Linked DNA regions of Homo sapiens: regions 2, 3 and 4 are each linked to region 1. The links are contacts of gene promoters, found by promoter capture Hi-C in blood cells and fetal thymus (Javierre and others, 2016). All regions are on one chromosome and are shown on one strand. Each heading gives the region's core, a stretch centred on a gene start or on the middle of the fragment in contact. The rest is flanking DNA. Distances are from core to core; before and after follow the strand shown.

The links. Contacts are between HindIII fragments. The CHiCAGO score rates a contact against its expected background, and 5 or more counts as called.
Region 2: a contact is called between a fragment that was not itself captured here and the fragment with the promoter of DZIP3 in region 1, in 1 of 17 cell types (total B cells). The highest score is 5.9, in total B cells.
Region 3: a fragment that was not itself captured here is called in contact with the fragment with the promoter of DZIP3 in region 1 in 6 of 17 cell types (fetal thymus, total B cells, naive CD4 T cells and 3 more); the score reaches 7.3 in fetal thymus.
Region 4: a contact is called between a fragment that was not itself captured here and the fragment with the promoter of DZIP3 in region 1, in 1 of 17 cell types (fetal thymus). The highest score is 6.6, in fetal thymus.

The regions. Positions count from the first base shown.
Region 1 is chr3:108,587,143-108,591,779 of GRCh38, reverse strand. DZIP3 (DAZ interacting zinc finger protein 3) reads right to left here and starts at 2,058. Exons shown (of 33, transcript NM_014648.4): 1 at 1,941-2,058. It overlaps CIP2A (cellular inhibitor of PP2A), which reads left to right and starts at 2,342. Exons shown (of 21, transcript NM_020890.3): 1 at 2,342-2,506. The coding sequence starts at 2,405. RefSeq lists an enhancer at 1,864-2,143. The HindIII fragment of the contact is 803 bases long and covers 1,495-2,297 here.
Region 2 is chr3:111,662,009-111,666,850 of GRCh38, reverse strand. It overlaps a transcript of CD96 not described here. Among named protein-coding and RNA genes, the nearest start is that of PLCXD2, 10 kb to the left of the region's middle. The HindIII fragment of the contact is 4,726 bases long and covers 22-4,747 here.
Region 3 is chr3:111,979,114-111,983,671 of GRCh38, reverse strand. ABHD10 (abhydrolase domain containing 10, depalmitoylase) reads right to left here. Exons shown (of 5, transcript NM_018394.4): 1 at 4,469-4,558; 2 at 1,705-1,888. Among named protein-coding and RNA genes, the nearest start is that of ABHD10, 2.4 kb to the right of the region's middle. RefSeq lists enhancers at 4,407-4,456, 4,477-4,526, 4,537-4,558, 4,445-4,558. The HindIII fragment of the contact is 2,121 bases long and covers 1,221-3,341 here.
Region 4 is chr3:112,557,969-112,562,766 of GRCh38, reverse strand. ATG3 (autophagy related 3) reads left to right here and starts at 805. Exons shown (of 12, transcript NM_022488.5): 1 at 805-1,310; 2 at 4,350-4,391. The coding sequence starts at 1,239. SLC35A5 (solute carrier family 35 member A5) reads right to left here and starts at 722. Exons shown (of 7, transcript NM_017945.5): 1 at 494-722. RefSeq lists enhancers at 424-1,233, 1,234-2,043. The HindIII fragment of the contact is 186 bases long and covers 1,886-2,071 here.

The sequences.
Region 1 (4,637 bases), core at 809-3,308:
AGGTCCTCCTGCCTTAGTCTCCCAAAAAACTGGAAATTAAAAGCGTGAGCCACTGCTCCTGGCCTCCTGCTCCTTTTCTTCCCTTTTTGAGGCCTAAAAGTATGGATTGGTGTTTCTCAAATTAGGATATGCAAGTATCTCTGATTAAAAATGTCAAGACTTATCACAGCTAGAAACGATCCCTCTTACTAAACTTACAACATCAATTTTGGTGAAGATTTTTTGAGAAAGACATTTGATATTAATTACAGAAGAGAATACAAAATTTGTATGACTGCTTAAGTCAAAATCCAACAAAGATGGCACTGATAGCACGCAGCTTTGCGCATTACCCTGGGCCTCTGAATGGGGACGATGCTGACACATCATCACAGATGAAAAGTCCAACACTATCAAACTCTGATCACTTCATTTGCCAATGAGGCACTGACTGTAACACTGAGAACTTAATTATGCCAGATGACAGCTGACACTTTACATTAATTCATTTTTTAACCATCTCCAAGACCGTATAGGACCTCATCTCTACTCCTCTCCTCCTCGTTCTTTCTACACTAGCCACATGGCATCCTTGTTTCTGGCATACAGTATCCCACTTTAGGGTCTTTCTTTGCCATTTCCTCTATCTAAAAACCTTTTCCCATAGAATATGGCTCCCTTTCTCAACTCCTTGAAGCATTTCCCCAAATGTTGCTTTCTTAATGAGGTCACCTTCCCATTTCCCTTATCAATTACCAACATTATTCTAGAGTAATAACGTCTATTTTTCTCTTTATATCATTTTCCTTACTTATTTATTGTGTTTATTATTTGGTTCCCTACCAAAATGTAAGTTGCATGCCAGTAGTATTTTTGTTTTTTTCACTGAGTCTATTGTGTCTAGAAAAGTGCTTAGCACATTGTAGATTCTCAATGAACTACTTATTGAATGAACAGTCCTATGAACCAGGTATCTCCCTTGGCCAGATTTTACCTAATGAAGATTCTGCAGCAGTGAGAACTTGCCTAGAGTCACATCGTCAAAGGTGGAGCTAGAATCTGTAAGCAACCTGGCTCTCTACTCTTTACCACTGCTGCATGTTACTGCATGGTGCCTCTCATTTATGTGGTGAATTTCAAAAGTACTATTTTGTATGTTTCCCTTACTAGACAGTTCCCTCGCAGCAGGGGATACTACTTCATCTCTGTTCCCTGACTGGCAGTTTCTAACCCATGTTACACGCTCTATAATTGTTTACGGAATGAATGAAAGCATAAATGAACACACAAGCTACCCAAAGATTTTTACATGAATGTCCCAACTGGTTAAATCATTTTTATCTTTCAGATTTAAACTTTTATAAAAAACAAAACCAAAACACCAAACCTGTCTTCAAAAATCTAGTAATTCAAAAAAATTCTTTTGAAGTGAAAAAACATGATTTCTGATAAACGATTTAATTAAATGGAAATGTACCCTATTCTTACAATTTCTACATCCTGGTTTTTAAAGCTTTATTCGACGTTAGGAAATATTAAGCAAAAAGCTCCAAAACCAGTAACTGACTCGCTTCATTACATACACATGCAATAATATTAAGCTATCTCCGATTTAAAAAACGCAAATAATAGTGCCATTTTCGTAGACATCGAGAATTATAAAACAATCAATCATGCCAGAGAGAAACAGACACCTTCACTTACAAAAACTGACGCTAACGAGTAACACCCTCCGGAGCAATACCTGGCCCAGGGTCAGCAGGAGGTAGTCTTCTCGAATAAATGTGACAAATACTTTGGTCAGGGCATGACTAATTTGCCACATAATGCCAATAGGTTGACTCTGAGAAACTACCATCCCCGGGCAGAAGGGGCGGGTGTAGGAGAGATTTAAAAACGAGGCCCCTCCCAGGCCGCCTCAAAATCTAGGGCCCAAGATTCTTCTCCTCAGAGCTCCTCACCGTGTCTAGACTAGGGGCAAGCGACCATTTCTCAGGTAGAGGATGACGCACAAACGAAAAACTGGCCATCCAACATGAAGGACGAGGAAGCGCACGAAATCAGAGCGCACAGCTGAGTGAGGAATCCCCCTTCTCCTAACCGATTCCTCTCCCGAGAAATCGCGAGATTTCTCGCCTTCACGGGATCTCAGGCCGAAACCTCGCGGCCTCTCAGACGAGGGTGGGTTAGCGGGGGCAGCTCCCAACCCCCGTCCTGGACCCACAAATCACCTCGACCCCTGGCCCACCCCGGCCGTCACCGAGAACGGTCCCCTAGGGTGCCTAGGGACTTCCGGAGCCCGACCGGATCCGGAAGCTTCTGAGAGCGAGGGGGTGGGGCCGAAAATCAAAAAAAGCGCGGCGAAAGCTAAAGGCCGGCGCACGCTGGGCGGTGGTGGTCCCTAAGCCGGGCCGCGGCCGGTGCAATGGACTCCACTGCCTGCTTGAAGTCCTTGCTCCTGACTGTCAGTCAGTACAAAGCCGTGAAGTCAGAGGCGAACGCCACTCAGCTTTTGCGGCACTTGGAGGTGAGAGGCTCTGGGGTAGAGGACAGATGGGGCTTCCCCTAGCAATTCTTATTTCACAGTGAGGCCGAGGAGTGGCGGCCCCAGCCTGGGAAAGAAAGGACAGTCCTTCGATCCCTCTGTTGTCTTTTCGTACTGGTAAAGGCTAGTGAGTGTCGGGGTTCCGCTGGCCGCAGCGAGAGGCAAGAGCGCTCACTGAAGGCTCTAGGAAAAGCGGGAGTGGGGCAAAAGGTTGGGAAGTTCAGGTTGTTTCGAGTAGGTAACGGAAAAAGCTCGGAACTTTATCTTTTCCTTTGCTTCTAGTTTTGGTTTTTCTACGAAACCAAGCCCTCAATACACAACTATTCTCAGTGACGGAAAGTCATGATTAAAACTTGGTTTTGCCCTTCGGTAATCTATAATTGAATTTGTTGCTTACTGCTCTTACTTGAACTCGGGTTGAACTCAAACTTGAAAAACATTATTTCAACATTAAGAAGCACTTCCCCTTCCTAGTAAGCGTAATCCTTTTTCTTTACCAAAATACATTGCTTACAGTTTTTTAATCTTAGAATGCTGAATTGCCTTTTTTTCTATTCTAGTGATATGTGTCCAGACGATTCCGTTTGTTTTAGGATCTTAATCTTCTGCTTTCATTTGTTTTGCATTTACGGAATTCAAACTAACATTGACCTCAGTTTAATTTTTTTAAAGCTCAATTAAGGCTTATTTTAACTCTCTGTGTCACAGCTTTCCTCTGTTAAGGTAGAATTGAACATAATTTTAAAATATATTGTATTATATTAACCCTATGATAAAAGACTAATGTGCCAAAAATTTGTAAAATATTACAGGAAAAAAATGATTTCCAGTAGTAGAGCAACAGCAGCTGTTAGTGAAGCTGCTGTTGTATTAAATGTGTCTGTCTTATCTTGAGCTTCACTGGTGCTCCTCTTTTCCCTACTTCAAGTGCCCATCTCCTAAGTACATTTGTTTTCTCTTTTTCATTCTTTATTTTAAGAAGTGCCTGCAAACCTAATAATTAAGGTGTTAGCTGTTAAATGCTTAAGGCTTTGCTTCTGAATTAGCATAGGCTCCAGAAGCCGCAGAATAAGCAGGGCAGTCCGTTTAATTTAAAAATCGGGAGTTAAGCATTTTGTATGCTATTCTGAAGCATTACCTTTCTTTGAATAAACAGGAAGGTTGTGCACTGAAAGAGATTTAAGGCACAGGGGCTTACACCTGTAATCCCAGCACTTTGGGAGGCCGAGGCGAGCGGATCACCTGAGGTCGGGAGTTTGAGACCAGCCTGACCAACATGCGAAACCCCGTCTCTACTAAAAATACAAAAATTACCTGGGCGTGGCGTCTCTCTGTTGTCCCAGCTACTCGGGAGGCTGAGGCTGGAGAATCGCTTGAACTCGGGAGGCTGAGGTTGCATAAGTAGAGATCGCTCCACTGCACTCCAACATGGGTGACAGAGTGAGACTCCGTCTCAAAAACAAAACAAAAAAAAAGAGAGACTTAAACAAAATATGGGATGGGGTCTTTACTGTATTCCTAAACTTTCAAGGGGTTTACATAAAACTCTTCTACCGTTGTTGCAAAGGTATGAAGAGCACTGGCTTCAGGTTACTACTAAAAAGGACTTTTTGTAATTAAGAGATAAAATACATACAGAGCATAAAGTGCATTAATCTTAAGTGAAGAGTTTGATAGTTTTTAATATATAGGTACCATAGCTACCATATTGGTAGCTAACATATAGGTAGAGTAGCTACCACCTGTATCATGATACAGAACATTTCTAGCCCCATAGGGTTTCTTCATTGCCTCTTCACATAAGGTTTGGGTAAGTAGACTCATACAATATGTACTCTTGTGTCTGGCCTTTTCCACTCAATAAAATCTGTGAAATTCATGTTGCACATGTACCGCTACTTCATTTTTTTTATTATTGATGTGTAGAATTCTATTGTATAAGTGTACCACAGTTTACATACACTTTCCTGTTGATAGGCATTTGGGTTGTTTACATTTCTGGGTGGAATTAAGAATAAAGCTGTTGTAGACATACATTTTTTGTGGATATATGCACACATTTATATACTTAGGAGTAGAATTGTTAGAGCATTGGAACATATGCCTATATGTT
Region 2 (4,842 bases), core at 1,135-3,634, 3.1 Mb before region 1:
TGAAAGCTTCCCACCTAAGCTTAACTCCCTCCTCTTGAGTTGACCAGGAGAAAGTTTCACTTGTAGGGCTCATCCTGCCCTTCTGGTACCGAATGTACAATATTAAAGCCTGATAAATTTACACAGCGGAAGTAGAAGACAAGAGGCCTCTGACTCAGGTCTCAAACTCCTATGAATCTTTAGCCTGCTGAGGTATGTTCTTGCTCCAAGAGTTTTAGACTAAGTTTCCTCACCTGTCTAGACTGGTGTTCTGTGTCTACTTACTTGAGTCTTCACTGATTCCTTGGATCTGTTTTTTTTTTTTTTTTCCTCTGCACCTATGATGCCTGCCTGATTCTACCAATCTGGGCTAAACTTTGAAACTGACTCAGTGGCCTATTCAGCCTAAGGCATCTGCCAAGCTGCCCAGATTTAGGTCCTGACCTCTCCTGGCCTGACTGACATGCCACAATAAAAATCATTAGAAGAAGAGCATTGATTTAAAGTGGATATATTAGTCTGTGATGTGAAGTGAGTCAAAAGAAAAGCTCAACTCACCATACTTGAGTGACAATCACCACCTTTAGCAAATTCTCTGCTCCACAAGGCATTTTTCTTTCTCCTACTCACTCATTTGCCATTTCCTGTCATTCATTCACATGATACTGAATTGAATACTACTTTGTGTCTGGCCTCATCCTCACAGTGGGGGCGTTGAGGAGTGAAGGCAGCTTTCCACCTTTGAGGACATTTGGGTCCAACAGAGTTCACAGCCCGCATTCCCTCATCTTGGAGTGACATTGCACGTTTTGACATAAACATTAAAGCAACAATAGCAAACTGAAAAATTTCATCTCAGTAGATAGGACAGAGAGTATCTTCAAATAGTATTTATTGAACAGATAAATATTGGTCAAGCTGTGTACCCAAAATTTGGGGTGATGGGTAAAAGTCCTGTAGGAGGAGGTTCTGTAGAAGTGATTGCTGAGCCTTCTTCCTGCCCCCGCTCCTGTGTGGGGAGCCCCAAGTAGGAATGATGAGCAGGAGTCTGCCCAGTTCTGCCACATGTGTGGGATCTTGCTGCAGGGACTGCTGTAAACTGTGAATTGTTTCCGTAGTTTCTACTAAAGTAGCAACAAAAAACACTGCCCAAGGGTTTGAGGGAGGAATGAAAGTCTCTTTCTTGGGTGGAGTCTGGAGAAACACAGCTTAGTTTTCTTTGATATGAAATGGTTCAACGGTGAGAGGGTAAGTTTGCTCTGGAGTTTTGGGAAAATCAAAGGGCTCCAATTATCTCCTTAAGAAAGGAAAATTGATTGAAGTTTTGGTGGATCCCAGCCAATACCTAGGGTAGAATAAGACCCAGAAATGATATAAAAACAGCGAACTTATGGGATGAATCCTTGCTTATTTTCTTTCTGAACTTTCAGATTAAACAATGCTCAGAGAAAAGAGAAAGAATCCTGCCCCCCACGCCAATGAAACAGCATTTTGGATTTTGTCATACTGTAAAAAGGTTGCAGTCTTGGAAAAATAGGGTAGTTTTGAGTCAAATTAAGAATCTTTCATTAGGGTCTTGCTCAAGTACTTTTTGTTTAAACTTTCTACTTGGAAATAATTTCAAACTTCAAAAAAAGTTGCAAAAGTAAAAATATTAAAAGACACACACACACACATACACACACACACACACACACACTTATTCCATCTACCTAGATTCATCTGTCTTTAACAATTTACCCCCTTTACTTTGTCATTTGCTTCCATCTCTCTCTGTATGCATATACATGTATATCTATACATGCATGTATGTATGTATAAGTGTATGCATATACATATGCATGCACACATGAACACACACCCTTTGAGGCTAAGTTATTTATATCATAGTCCTTTGACTGCTAAATAATAACTGTGTATTTCCTAAGAATAAAAATATCTCTTACATAACAACATCGGAGTTATAAATACTTTTATCTAGTCATCTGTCCATATTCTAATTTTGTCAGTTGATCTAATAAATGTCTTTCATACCATTTCCCCCCTTCTAGTACAGGATTCAATCTAGAGTTAGGTATTGCAATCAATTGTCATGTCTCTTTAGCCTCCTTTAATCTAGAATATTTTCAGAGCCTTTCTTTATATTGACATTTTTGAAAAATATAGTCCTCTCTCCCTTTTTAATATACCTTTTTTTTGTTTAAAATTTCAACTTTTATTTTAGATACAGGGGTACATGTACAAGTTGCATGAGGATATTGTGTGATGCTGAGGTTTGGGGTACAGATCTTTTCATTTAGGTAGTGAGCATGGTACTTGATAGGTTATTTTTCAACCCATGCCTTCCTCCTTCCCTTTATGCTCTAGTAGTCCACATTGTCCATTGTTTCCATATTTATGTCCAGATGTGCTAAATGTTTAGCTCCCACTTATAAGTGAGAACACGTGGTATTTTTTTTTCCTGTTCCTGCATTACTTCACTTAGGATTTTGGCCTCAAACTACATCCACGTTGCTGCAAAGGACATGATTTCATTCTTTTTAATGGCTGCATAGTATTCCACAGTGTATATGTACCACATTTTTTTTCCAGTCCACAAATGATGGACAACTGGGTTGATTCTATATTTTTGATACTGTGAAGGGCACAGTGATGAGCATACATTTGCACGTCTTTTTGGTAGTATAATTTATTTTCCTTTGGGTATACACCCAATAATGTGATTGCTAGGTTGAATGGTAGCACTATTTTAAGTTCTTTGAGAAATATGCAGACTGCTTTCCACGGTGACTAACTTACATTCCCACCAGAAGTGTATAAGCGGCTGGGCGCAGTGGCTCAAGCCTGTAACCCCATCACTTTGGGAGGCTGAGGCAGGAAGATCACGAGGTCAGGAGATCGAGAGCATCCTGGCTAACATGGTGAAACCCCATCTCTACTAAAAATACAAAAAAATTTCTGGGCGTGTGGTGGCAGGCACCTGTAGTCTCAGCTACTCGGGAGGCTGAGGCAGGAGAATGGCGTGAACCCGGGAGGTGGAGCTTGCAGTGAGCAGAGATAGCACTACTGCACTCCAGCCTGGGCAACAGAGCGAGACTCCATCTCAAAAAAAAAAAAAAGTGTATAAGCATTTCTTTTCTTCACAACCTTGCCAACATCTGTTTTTTGACTTTTTAATAATGGCCATTCTGGCTGGCGGGAGATGGTATCTCATTGTGATTTTGGTTTGTGTTTCTCTAATGATTAGTGATGTTGAACATTTTTTCATGTTTGTTGGCCACTTGTATCTCTTCTTTTGAGAAATGTCTGTTCATATCCTTTGTCCATTTTTTTAAAAGGAGTTGTTTTTTGCTTGTTGATTTGTTTAACTTCCCTTTAAATTCTGGATATTAGGCCTGTTGATTGTTTCTTTTGCTGTGCAGAAACTTTTTAGTTTAATTAGGTCCCACTTGTCTACTTTTGTTTTTGTTACAATTGCTTTTGGGGACTTAACCAAAAATTCTTTGCCAAGGCTGTTACAGTTTGGCTTTGTGTCCTCACCCAAGTCTCATGTTGAATTGTAATTCCCAGTGTTGGGAGAGAGATCTGGTGGGAGGTGCTTGAATCGTGGGGGCAGATTTCCCCCTTGCTGCTCTTGTGATAGTGAGTGAGTTCTCACGAGATCTCACAGATTTGTTTAAAAGTGTGTAGCAAAAAAGTACTACTCACTTTTTTGTTTGAAAGGGTGTAGGACTTCCTCCTTTGTTCTCTCTCTCTCCTGCTTACTTCCCCTTTGCCCTTCCACCATGTTTGTAAGTTTTCTGAGGTCTCCCAAGCCATGCTTCCTGTATAGCCTGTGGAATTGCGAGTCAGTTAAACCTCTTTTCTCCATAAATTACTCAGTCTCAGGTATGTCTCTATAGCAGTGTGAGAATGGACTAATACAGAAAATTGGTGCCAGAGAAGTGGGGCATTGCTATAAAGATACCTGAAAATGTGGACACAACATTGGAACTGGGTAAGGAGCAGAGGTTGGAACAGTTTGCAGGGATCAGAAGAAGGCAGGAAGATGAGGGAAAGTTTGGAACTTCCTAGAAACTTGTTGAATGGACCAAAATGTGGATAGTGATATAGACAGTGAAGCCCGGGCTGTGGTTGTCTCAGATGGAGATGTGGAACTTATTGGGAACTGGAGTAAAGGTAACTTTTGTTATGCTTTAGCAAAGAGACTGGTGGCATTTTGCCTCTGCTGTAGAAACCTATGGAACTTTGAACTTAAGAGAGATGATTTAGAATATCTGGGAGAAGAAATTTCTAAGTGCAAAGCAAGTAAATTGGTGACTTCTTAAAGCCTATGCTCATTTGCATAAACAAAGAAATAACCTGAAACTAGAACTTATATTTAAAAAGGAAGCACAGCATAAAAGGTTGGAAAATTTGTAGCCCAACCATGTGGTAGAAAAGAAAAATCCATTTTCTGGGGGGACTTTCGAGGCTGCTGCAGAAGTTTGCATAAGTAAAGAAGAGCTGAATGTTAATAGCCAAGACAATGGGGAAAATGCCTCCAAGGCATTTCAGAGACCTTCACAGCAGCACCTTTCATCACAGGCCTGGAGGACTAAGAGGGAAAAATGGTTTCCTGGGCTAGGCCCAGGGCTCCACTGCTCTGTGCAGCCTTGGTACATGGTGCCCTGCATCCCAGCCACTCCAGCTCCAACTGTGCCTGAAAGGGGCTCAGTTACAGCTCAGGCTGTTGCTTCAGAGGGTGCAAGCCCAAGCCTTGGAAGCTTCCATGTGGTTTTGGACCTGCAGGTGCGTAGAAGGTAAGAGTTAAGGTTTGAGAACCTCTCCCTAGATTTCAAAGAATGTACGAAAATGCCTGAA
Region 3 (4,558 bases), core at 1,032-3,531, 3.4 Mb before region 1:
TTGAAGATCTAAATTTTACAGCAAAAAATCCCAACAAAAGCAACCTGAAAAATTAGAGAATAGAAGATAAAATCTCTTATAATAAAGTGCAATCAATAGTTAACAATAATTAGACTGTGATGAACTTTGATAAGAGCAAATAAAATGGAACTTGTTCAAACTAAATATTTGTAGTTAAGCACTATTCTTTATGAAGGTATACTCACACAGGATCCAAAAATGCAGAAAAGCCACATTATGTCTTATAGGGAGACAGGAACTGGTTATAACTCTCATAGTCTCAAAGCTGAAATTTTAGAACTGGTAAAATGGTGATTTCTCGATTCAAATTTATTCAGTGGCAAAAAAGAAAAGTGATAACAATATTTTTGATATTATGATCTTCTGCTCAGGACAGTCCCCCTCCTTGGACAGCACTTCCCTCCCACCCAAATCTGAATTATTCTTCAACGTTCCTTTATCTATTTCAATCCCACTGTCTCTAACTTTATGCAATTAAGTATACTGTTCTTTTGACACAATCACATTCTGATGAGTATTTCTGCCAAATTTCTAACATGTATTTTATCTTGTGTTTCCCCACCCTGAATGAAAGGTCCTCATAGGCAAGTACAATGTTTTATAATTCTTTGTTATTATGCAGCACTCAGTATAGTGCTAGAGAATCTATTTCCAAAAAGTACTCCAATCTTCAGAATAAGTCAGAACAGATTTTAACATAGTTCTGAGTATGAAAATAAAATAATTCATTAGTTTGGTAAAAGAAATAAGATTAAATCTTATTTAATTTTATAATTGACATAATTGCTGCTAATATATTGAACAGGTAGTCTGAAAGTTTTATATACAGCTGTATTTTCTAGAATTATTGAATGAATGTTTGTGAGTCACTCTTCTAAAAATTTAGATGGATAGATTTTTAGGCTGTTAGTGCTAGAAAATAACTCAGAAGTTATCTCTAGTCCAACCTCCTTCTTTTGATGACAAACTTAGGTCCAATGTTTATTAACTTACTTGTCTTGTCATAGTTATTGCTCGAATTTATTCTAGAACTCATGTTTCTTGAATTCCAGGCTAATCTTCTTTTTACGAAATCATACCATCTCTTCTGGACAGTGGATACTAAACATATAACTGCTACAGGTAGACCTTATAATAACATAAAGTTATTTACTAAAATAACTCTCAGTGTGAAAAATTAGGAATTATAAAATCAAGCTTGAGTTAAGTACCACTTATCCCTATTTATGCTTATACATATTCAGATTACAGGAGAGGGAAGAGAAAACTCAGCAGAAATTTGCATTATGATACTTTTAAATACATGTATTACTTTTAGATAAACAGTGATCAAATAAAGTCCTTAAGTCCCCAGTGGAAAATGATAATATAAGAGACTGTATGAAAGCCAACTAGTATATCTGTTTGTTGTCACATACATTATTGCCTCTAAAGAGCTTAGTTACCAATATTTCCCTTAAGATGTCCTTTTCTGCCAGGGTTGTCAGCGTGGCACAAAGGCCTTTAAAAAAGGTCTTTTAAAGGTTGCTTTTAAAATTACCCTAAATCACAAGATGCAAGTTTACAGACCATTAAAATAATGTATAAAAATGCTGGCATTTACTTCAACTGATTAGAACAGAAGTAATTCTCCACTGTAATGCTAACAGTAGCAATATTTTCTCAGTAATGTGTTGTTCCTACCTTATGCAGGCGTGACCTAGAGATTTGCAAAACTCCTCAATCGCCAACGCTTTTGTACCATTCATATAAGAAAGATAGCCAGGGATGAAGATAATTCCTGGACTTTTGCCTTTTAGCTTCTTATAAGCCAGGTTTGGAAGGTCTGGTCGATTAAGGAATGAGAGTGACGTCTTTTGTCTACAAGCTAAACAAAGTACACAAAAAGTAAACTATGGTTTGTAAACTCAGTCTTTGGAAAACCATATATATTTTCGATCTTAACTTTCTTATCTCAATGAATTGATGTTAAATACTATTTCCATTTAATAGAAAAAACAAGAACAGACTCAAAGTACTAAGTAAGTCTGTGCATGAGATCTCCAGTTTTAAAATCATGCCAACATCAGTAACTTCTTTGAGCAAAGTCCAATCTTGATTCTTCCAAAATACACAATGCGGTAGGAATTTCAAGACAACAAAAGACAGAGACTAATCGAAAAACATTTTCTTGTTACTGCTTTATCATGTATTCTAAACAGTATCAATCAACATTCAGATTTACCCGCAATAGTTTCAGCCCTCTCTTGTGAGATTTTTGGCTTTGTTTTTAAATTTATTTTTTGTTTGACAAGTTTCACATCCCTTATTTTCTTTCTTTTTTTTTTTTTTTTTTTTTTGAGACAGGGTCTCACCTTGTCACTCAGGCTAGAGTGCAGTGGTGCAATCCTAGCTTACGGCAGCCTGGACTTCCTCGACTCCTCAGGCTCAAGCCATCGTCCCACCTCAGCCTCCCCAGTAGCTGCACTACACGCATGTACCACCACACCTGGTTAATTTTTGTATTTTTTGTGGAGACAGGGTCTCACTATGTTGCCCAGACTGGTCTCAAACTCCCAGGCTCAAGTGACCCTCCCACCTTGGCCTCCCATTGCTGAAATTACAGGTGTGAGCCACCATGCCTGGCCTTTCATCCCCTACTTTCTTGGGGGTCAGGGAAGAAACAGGTTTGGTCTGCCCTTGCAAAATTGTTTCAAAGGAGGACGTGCTGTGCCCTTTTTATTACTGACTCCCATCCACCCGCCCACCCATCCGCCTACCTCAACCAAGAAATCATGAGCCATGGTAACAACTCATAATTTTATTGTCAGCTGAGGTGGGTTCAATGAGCAGTTTCTTTAAAAACAACATATGATAGTATCGTTTTTGGAAAGAGATTTCTTATAGACCTATGCAATCACTTTGCGTTTTGTTGGTTTGGCTTTCTGTAAATGGTACACAGAGATTTTAGTGTAATTTAAGTACAACAGTACAATTGGTGAACTTCATAAGATTATCCTACTTCATCTTTTTCAAATTTTCCCCCATTATAAAATCTATACTTGCTCTTAAGAAACAAGTAGATATTTTTTTAAAAGAGTCATTTATAATCCCACCTCTTCTTTCCAAAGACACTAGTTTTGTGTACTTCCTTAGAGTCTTTGGACTAATACATTTTCTTTTTTTATATTAAATGAAGCCGTCCTCCACTTTGAAAACTTCTCAGTCTTGAGAAGAGAATCCATGTGTGCTGCTAAAGTTTTCCCCATTTTGTAATTAAGAAGTTGATTTTTTAAAGATGTAACTGAAGGCCTTAAAGTTATCCTTTTTACATAAAAGCTTGTTTCAAAGTATAGAGAAATATGCCAAATTTAAAACTTTTGGTAAGGACCAGTTATGCTGATCCACTCATGTTCATTTCCCATCTACTCAGCTGAGCACTAAAAAAAATTCTCACTATCCTCTTCCAGAAATCACCTCTTAAAACATAATTTCCCCGAGATGATTATAATTTATTTAATGTAAGTTCTAAGTAGACAGATTCATATAATTATATTCATAAATCATCTTTGAACATAAGGATTAATTCAAAGCCTGGTGCATAAGTGCTCAATGAATAAGTGCTAACTAGATGAAATAATATTATACTCTGGTTAATGAATTGACATACTACATTTTACTAGGAGTATTTGCATGTGTAACATGCCTTTTGGTTGCGCACAATTAAATGCAAGTTAATCTGATTATAAAAGTTTAAAAACTGGATACAAAAATCTCCATACAAAAGATCTCTGCCGTGACATTAATTACCACTCCAAGCACCATGCATCATCTGACAGCTACGTGGCAATGGTGTGAACCACACACAAAGCCAAAAAAATAAAAGGATCTAATTCAAAGACTATATATACATATAAGAGGTTCTCTGATTTTTAGCCCAAATTCTAGTTTCCTTTGTGCAATAATGATTATGGTTCTTTCACTGAGTGGGTGCAGCAAGAAAGCAGAACTAGAAATTAGGCTTATGAGGGCGTCTACACTTTTACAAAGAACATGCCTCGCATTGTTAGGTTCCCTAAACTCAAAGGAGAGTCAGTCTAAGCATTTTAGGAGTCACAATCTACAAATTCCTAGAAGTAACTAATAATAATGCATTAAATGCACATTTTAATTTTTTCTAGTGTTGGCCTTTAATGCAGGGGAGGCAGGTAAGGAGCAGGAGCTCTTTAAACTGCACAGTGTAAAACGCCAGCGAGGGCCCGGGGTGCCCAGAATGCCGCAGGGCCGCGGCAGAGCTCTCCTCACAGCCTTCACCAGAAGTCTACAAAGCGCCTAGAACTGGGGTGTTGAGAAAGGGGGAGGAGCATTTTTGAACCGGGCGCCAAAGACGCACTGCACAGGCACGGTAACTGACGGAACCCGAGGCGTTCGAAAGAACGCATCCTACTCCCGCCTTTCGGACACTGACCTGGGAGCCACCGTGGCGCCCGCTGAGGTATCCGTGCAAGCAGCACGCTGAGGCCACGGTGGGGACCGAAGGGGACGGCTGCCCAGCCCC
Region 4 (4,798 bases), core at 729-3,228, 4.0 Mb before region 1:
TTAGTAAATAATTTTGCTGTAAGATAAGGCTTTCAGAATTGTATTTTCCTCCTCTTTTCCCTCGGAGGAAAAAGCTTATTAGGACAGACTTCATTACAATAACGACCAAAATGGAAATATCTGAAACACTGCTGTAAAGTTTTACTGAACTAGTTAGTGTTTGAAATGGAGGAGATCGTAGAAATCAATGAATCTAAGGCCCTCTTTTGATAGGCTGAGGACACTAAACCCCAGGTTGGGTAAGTAACTTGCCCAAAGCCTCCCAGCGTACTGTAGGAATAGCGCATAGAGCCTGCGGGGAGTGGGGAGAAATGCCAATACTGACAGCCCCATTGGGCGCACGCCTACAGGACGCCTCCCCGACAGGAGGGGGCCAGATTTCCCTTCACAGTCAGGGACTACCCTTCTAGTCACACATGCGCAGTAGGGCTCTTCACTGGCGCACCCTCCCCTCAGACGCAGGCGCAATTCCTTGCCCGCGGGGCGCGGTTACCTCCCTCAGAAGAGCTTCTAGTGGAAGAACGCACATCCTAGAGCTGAGACAGTAACTGTCTAGCCCCGTAGTAGCAGCAGTAGCCTTTAGGGTCCATACGTGGAGAAGCTACAGTAGGTATAGGCGAAAAAGCCCCTCCCTCTAAGCCGCCTATTGCAGAACAAAAACCACGATTACGTCCGGATTGGGAAAAAGCGGACCCGACACCCATTGCGCAGGCACGTTCAGTGTTACGCTTCCGGAAGGAGGGGAGAAGCGGCTTATCCCGCCCCAGCCCGGCCCCTTTCTCACGTCACGTGCCGGGAGAGTCTAGTGTCACGTGAGGCCCCGGTGGCGGCGCAGCTACGGCAAGAGAGTGAGAAGGAAGGGAAGCCGGAAGGGGCGCGAGTGAAGCAAAGCGAGGACAGACAGCTCGCAGAGGGCGAGGGGTGCGTGTGCGTCCGCTTCTCACCTCAGGTCTCCCTTCGGCCCCGCTGCCCTCCCTCGCGGCTGGGTGACAGCTGGGTCCGGTCCGTCGCGGGCTGCCTGGGGTGCGAGGATCGCGCACCCCGTCTTCGCGCGCTGTGCCTGCCGCCCCGCCCCCTCGTCCCGCCCGTCCCGTCGCGTCGCGTCCCGTCCCCTCGGGTGCTGCCAGCCGGGTGCTGATGCGAGTCGGTGGCAGCGAGGACATTTTCTGACTCCCTGGCCCCTGACACGGCTGCACTTTCCATCCCGTCGCGGGGCCGGCCGCTACTCCGGCCCCAGGATGCAGAATGTGATTAATACTGTGAAGGGAAAGGCACTGGAAGTGGCTGAGTACCTGACCCCGGTCCTCAAGGTAAGCCAGGCCAGGGTTGCCGGGAGCTGTCAGGCACATGCTCGACTTTTCAGGGACCAGGCGCCGCAGGAGTCCCCGCTTTCTCCGGCGGGGCAAGGTGTAGGAAGGCAGTAGGGCTCGAGACACAGGGAAGTGTGCAGCCCCCACCCGTAGTCTTAACCGGCTGTTCGTTAGGGCTTTCTGACTCCTCAGGGGTAAACTTGGAGCGACGCTCTGCGTGTTCCTGCCTTCTCCCGTCATAACTCTGCGCGGTCGGGTACGTCGGGTTGGAAGGGTGTTCGGAGGCTGAGTAGATTGAAGAACGTTAAATCCAAACACTGGAAGTCTTTTAGCCTTTTTAAGCAAGGATTTTGCTTCTCTTTAAAAAATGAATTTAGTGTTTGACACACAGAGGTCAAAAGAGACCTGAGGTGAGGTCACTTTTCCTTTAAGTTTCATGAAAGTCCGCTGTAGTGGGGAAGTTGTGACTGCGATCCCAACTCGTTTAGATTTCAGAGGAAGGAGGTGAAATTGGCAACATTATCTCATTCAGTAACCTTGAACCCATCTAACGAGCAAAACCTTTTTCCCAAGCTTTTCAGATAGCCGTAGCTGGTTATTAGTGATAACAAGGCACGGTTTGACCTTCCTGGCTGTATAATTTTTAAAAATATATTGGCAACAGTACAGCATTTTTAAAGTAAAAAATTGTGACACATTAGCTGTTACAGTAGTGACTGATTTTTTTTTTAAAGGTAAATTTCTACAACTGCCTTCAAGCTTTTCTTTTATAACTCTTTTGGAGTGTTTTGTTGTAACTTCATTTTTGCTTTCTGAAAAGTGAGCAAGAATAGTAAATTAATGGGAAGTTCTTGCTTAGTTTTTGTTTTTTTTTTCTAGTTGTTTTTAAGCTTTCAGTTAGAATGTACCAATCTCAGTGTGGGGGTGAAATACCTTAATATGCTAAGAATAGTGGAGAGTTTTGCTTTGCTCCCTTTCCATGACAAAGGGAAGTACTAGGTCTATACTTTTTAAAATACGTTTTTGTAAAGCTCCTTTTAAAAGAATAACTTATTGGCCAAGTAAGAAATAAACCAGCGATTATAAATGAGAATTTCAACTGTTGCTTTGCTTACATTTGTTTACTGTGAAAGTCATTTTAAGATTATTCAGTCAAACTAAGATTGGAAAATAATTTTCACATTTGAATCAAATGCTTTTACATAATTATGTTAACTTTTCAGAATATCATATCTACCTAGGTATACAGTATTTTAATAATACACCATTGTACAACTTTTTAGTTTCCGGGAGAGAGGAGCAAGAGACTGCCCAAATGAAATATAAAATGTATGATGTAGAATTATGTTTTCAGGAGTCCATCATACTTGCTCACCAAACTGAAAAGGAACTGTTGGCATGTCAGTATGTATGGTATATGTCTTTAGTAAAAAGGAAAGAATGAATGACCGTCTCCTTGATACTCCTGTGCAAACTGTTGTTTACAGAGAGAATCCTTACAGTTTCCTGCTTAGGGAGGGCAAGGAGAAAGAACAAAATCCTCAGGAAATAAGTAATAGCCTTCTCCTAGCAAGTAAAAATTAAGAAAAATCATGTTTTGTTTGGAGTATGTACATGCAGTAAACACTGAAGTTCTTACAATCATCTCTAAGGTTCTGCTTAATTGGTAGAGGCCCCAATCTCATCTGCTCCATCCCCTGACTGCTGTTGCTTAAGCTAACCTGATCTCTTTATTATTCTGTTAAGCACACTCTTGGTTTGGGGTTTTGCATGTGCTCTTCCCTCTATCTGAAACGCGCTTCGCACTTAACAGCCTTATGGCATGTTCCTTTCCTTAAGGTTTTTAAGTCATTATTCAGTGAAGTCTTTGTTCTCTTACCATTCTATTTTAAATGGCCATCTCTCCCCAGCCACCCCACAGATTCCTCTCAGCTTCATTTTTCTTTATGGTATGTTATTCATTACCATTTGGCTTTTCTTCCTCAACTGGAGTTGAAACTCCTTATGAGGGCAAGAATAAATTTGTATTTATGTTATTCACCCCCAAATATCCCCACTGCCTCAAATAGTGTCTGGCACATAGTAAACATTTGTTGAATGAATAATGTTTATAAATGAGTGTTTTCATTTTTGTAGACTCTACCAGAAAATCTTACATATAACTTAAAGTTTAGAAAAATTTAGAGAATAGTGTGTCAGTATCTTGGTGGAGATGAGAATTAGAGGAAAATGCTAAATAATTTCTAGATTTGGTTTCTAACATTATTCAGTTTAAATAAGACTGGCTGAATTGTAAGATGTCTAAACATCTTTAAGACATTTTTGCTGTGCTGTAAAATAAAGGTATTTGTTCATTTCACAGAATCACTGTAAGGCTTTATTTTTATTTAAATCTTAGAATGTTTGTACATAGAGCTTGGCCGGGCGCAGTGGCTCACGCCTGTAATCCCAGCACATTGGGAGGCCGAGGCGGGTGGATCACCTGAGGTCAGGAGTTCGAGACCAGCCTGACAAACATGGAGAAACCCTGTCTCTACTAAAAATGCAAAAATTAGCCGGGCATGGTGGCACATGCCTGTAATCCCAGCTACAGGCAGGAGGCTGAGGCAGGAGAATCGCTTGAACCCGGGAGGTGGAGGTTGCCGTGAGCCAAGATGGCGCCACTGCACTCCAGCCTGGGCAACAGGAGTGAAACTCCATCTTAAAAAAAAAAAAAAAGAATGTTTCTACATAGAGCTTTACTCTATTATAGCACTGATCTGATAGTATTATAATTATTTTCATGTCTGTTTCCTACATTAGACTTGTATATTCCTGTGGTCATTACCAGTGAGTGAAACAGATAGATAGATATAGATAGATACCAATGAGGTAGGTAGATAGGTAGATTAGATAGATTATAGATTAGATAGATAGACTAATTTTTTTTTGTATGTGCTCTATTGCCTAGAAGGGCACCAGGCAAATAATTGCCCCCAAAATATATTTAATTGATAGTGAAACATGATATAATATTGTTTTTCTTTCTGCTTTTTTTAGGAATCAAAGTTTAAGGAAACAGGTGTAATTACCCCAGAAGAGGTGAGTGCTGAAGATATACTGAAGTCTTTTTATTTTACAATAATACTAAACTAGGTGGCTTTTCTGCTTCATAAGAAAACATCTTGAACTTTAATTTTGATTTGAGTAAAATTAGGTTTTATGACTGTGATTTATGGGAATTTCTACTTCCCATAGAAGAAAAGATGTAACTTCCCCGTCAGTTTGCCACTTCTCATATTTCTCTGTAGTTCCTCTTTATTTAGAAATGAGGGTGAAAGAAGGGATCAAAATGAGTCCTATGTCACTTATCCTTGACTTGTATTGGTGTTATATTGAGCTGTGCAGTAAGCTCTGTAATGTCTGTGGTGTCTTGGTTCTGTTTACATCAAATGTGAGTTTTCATGCTTTTCATTGGAAAACTTTGCTTACTACTTAGATATTGTTTT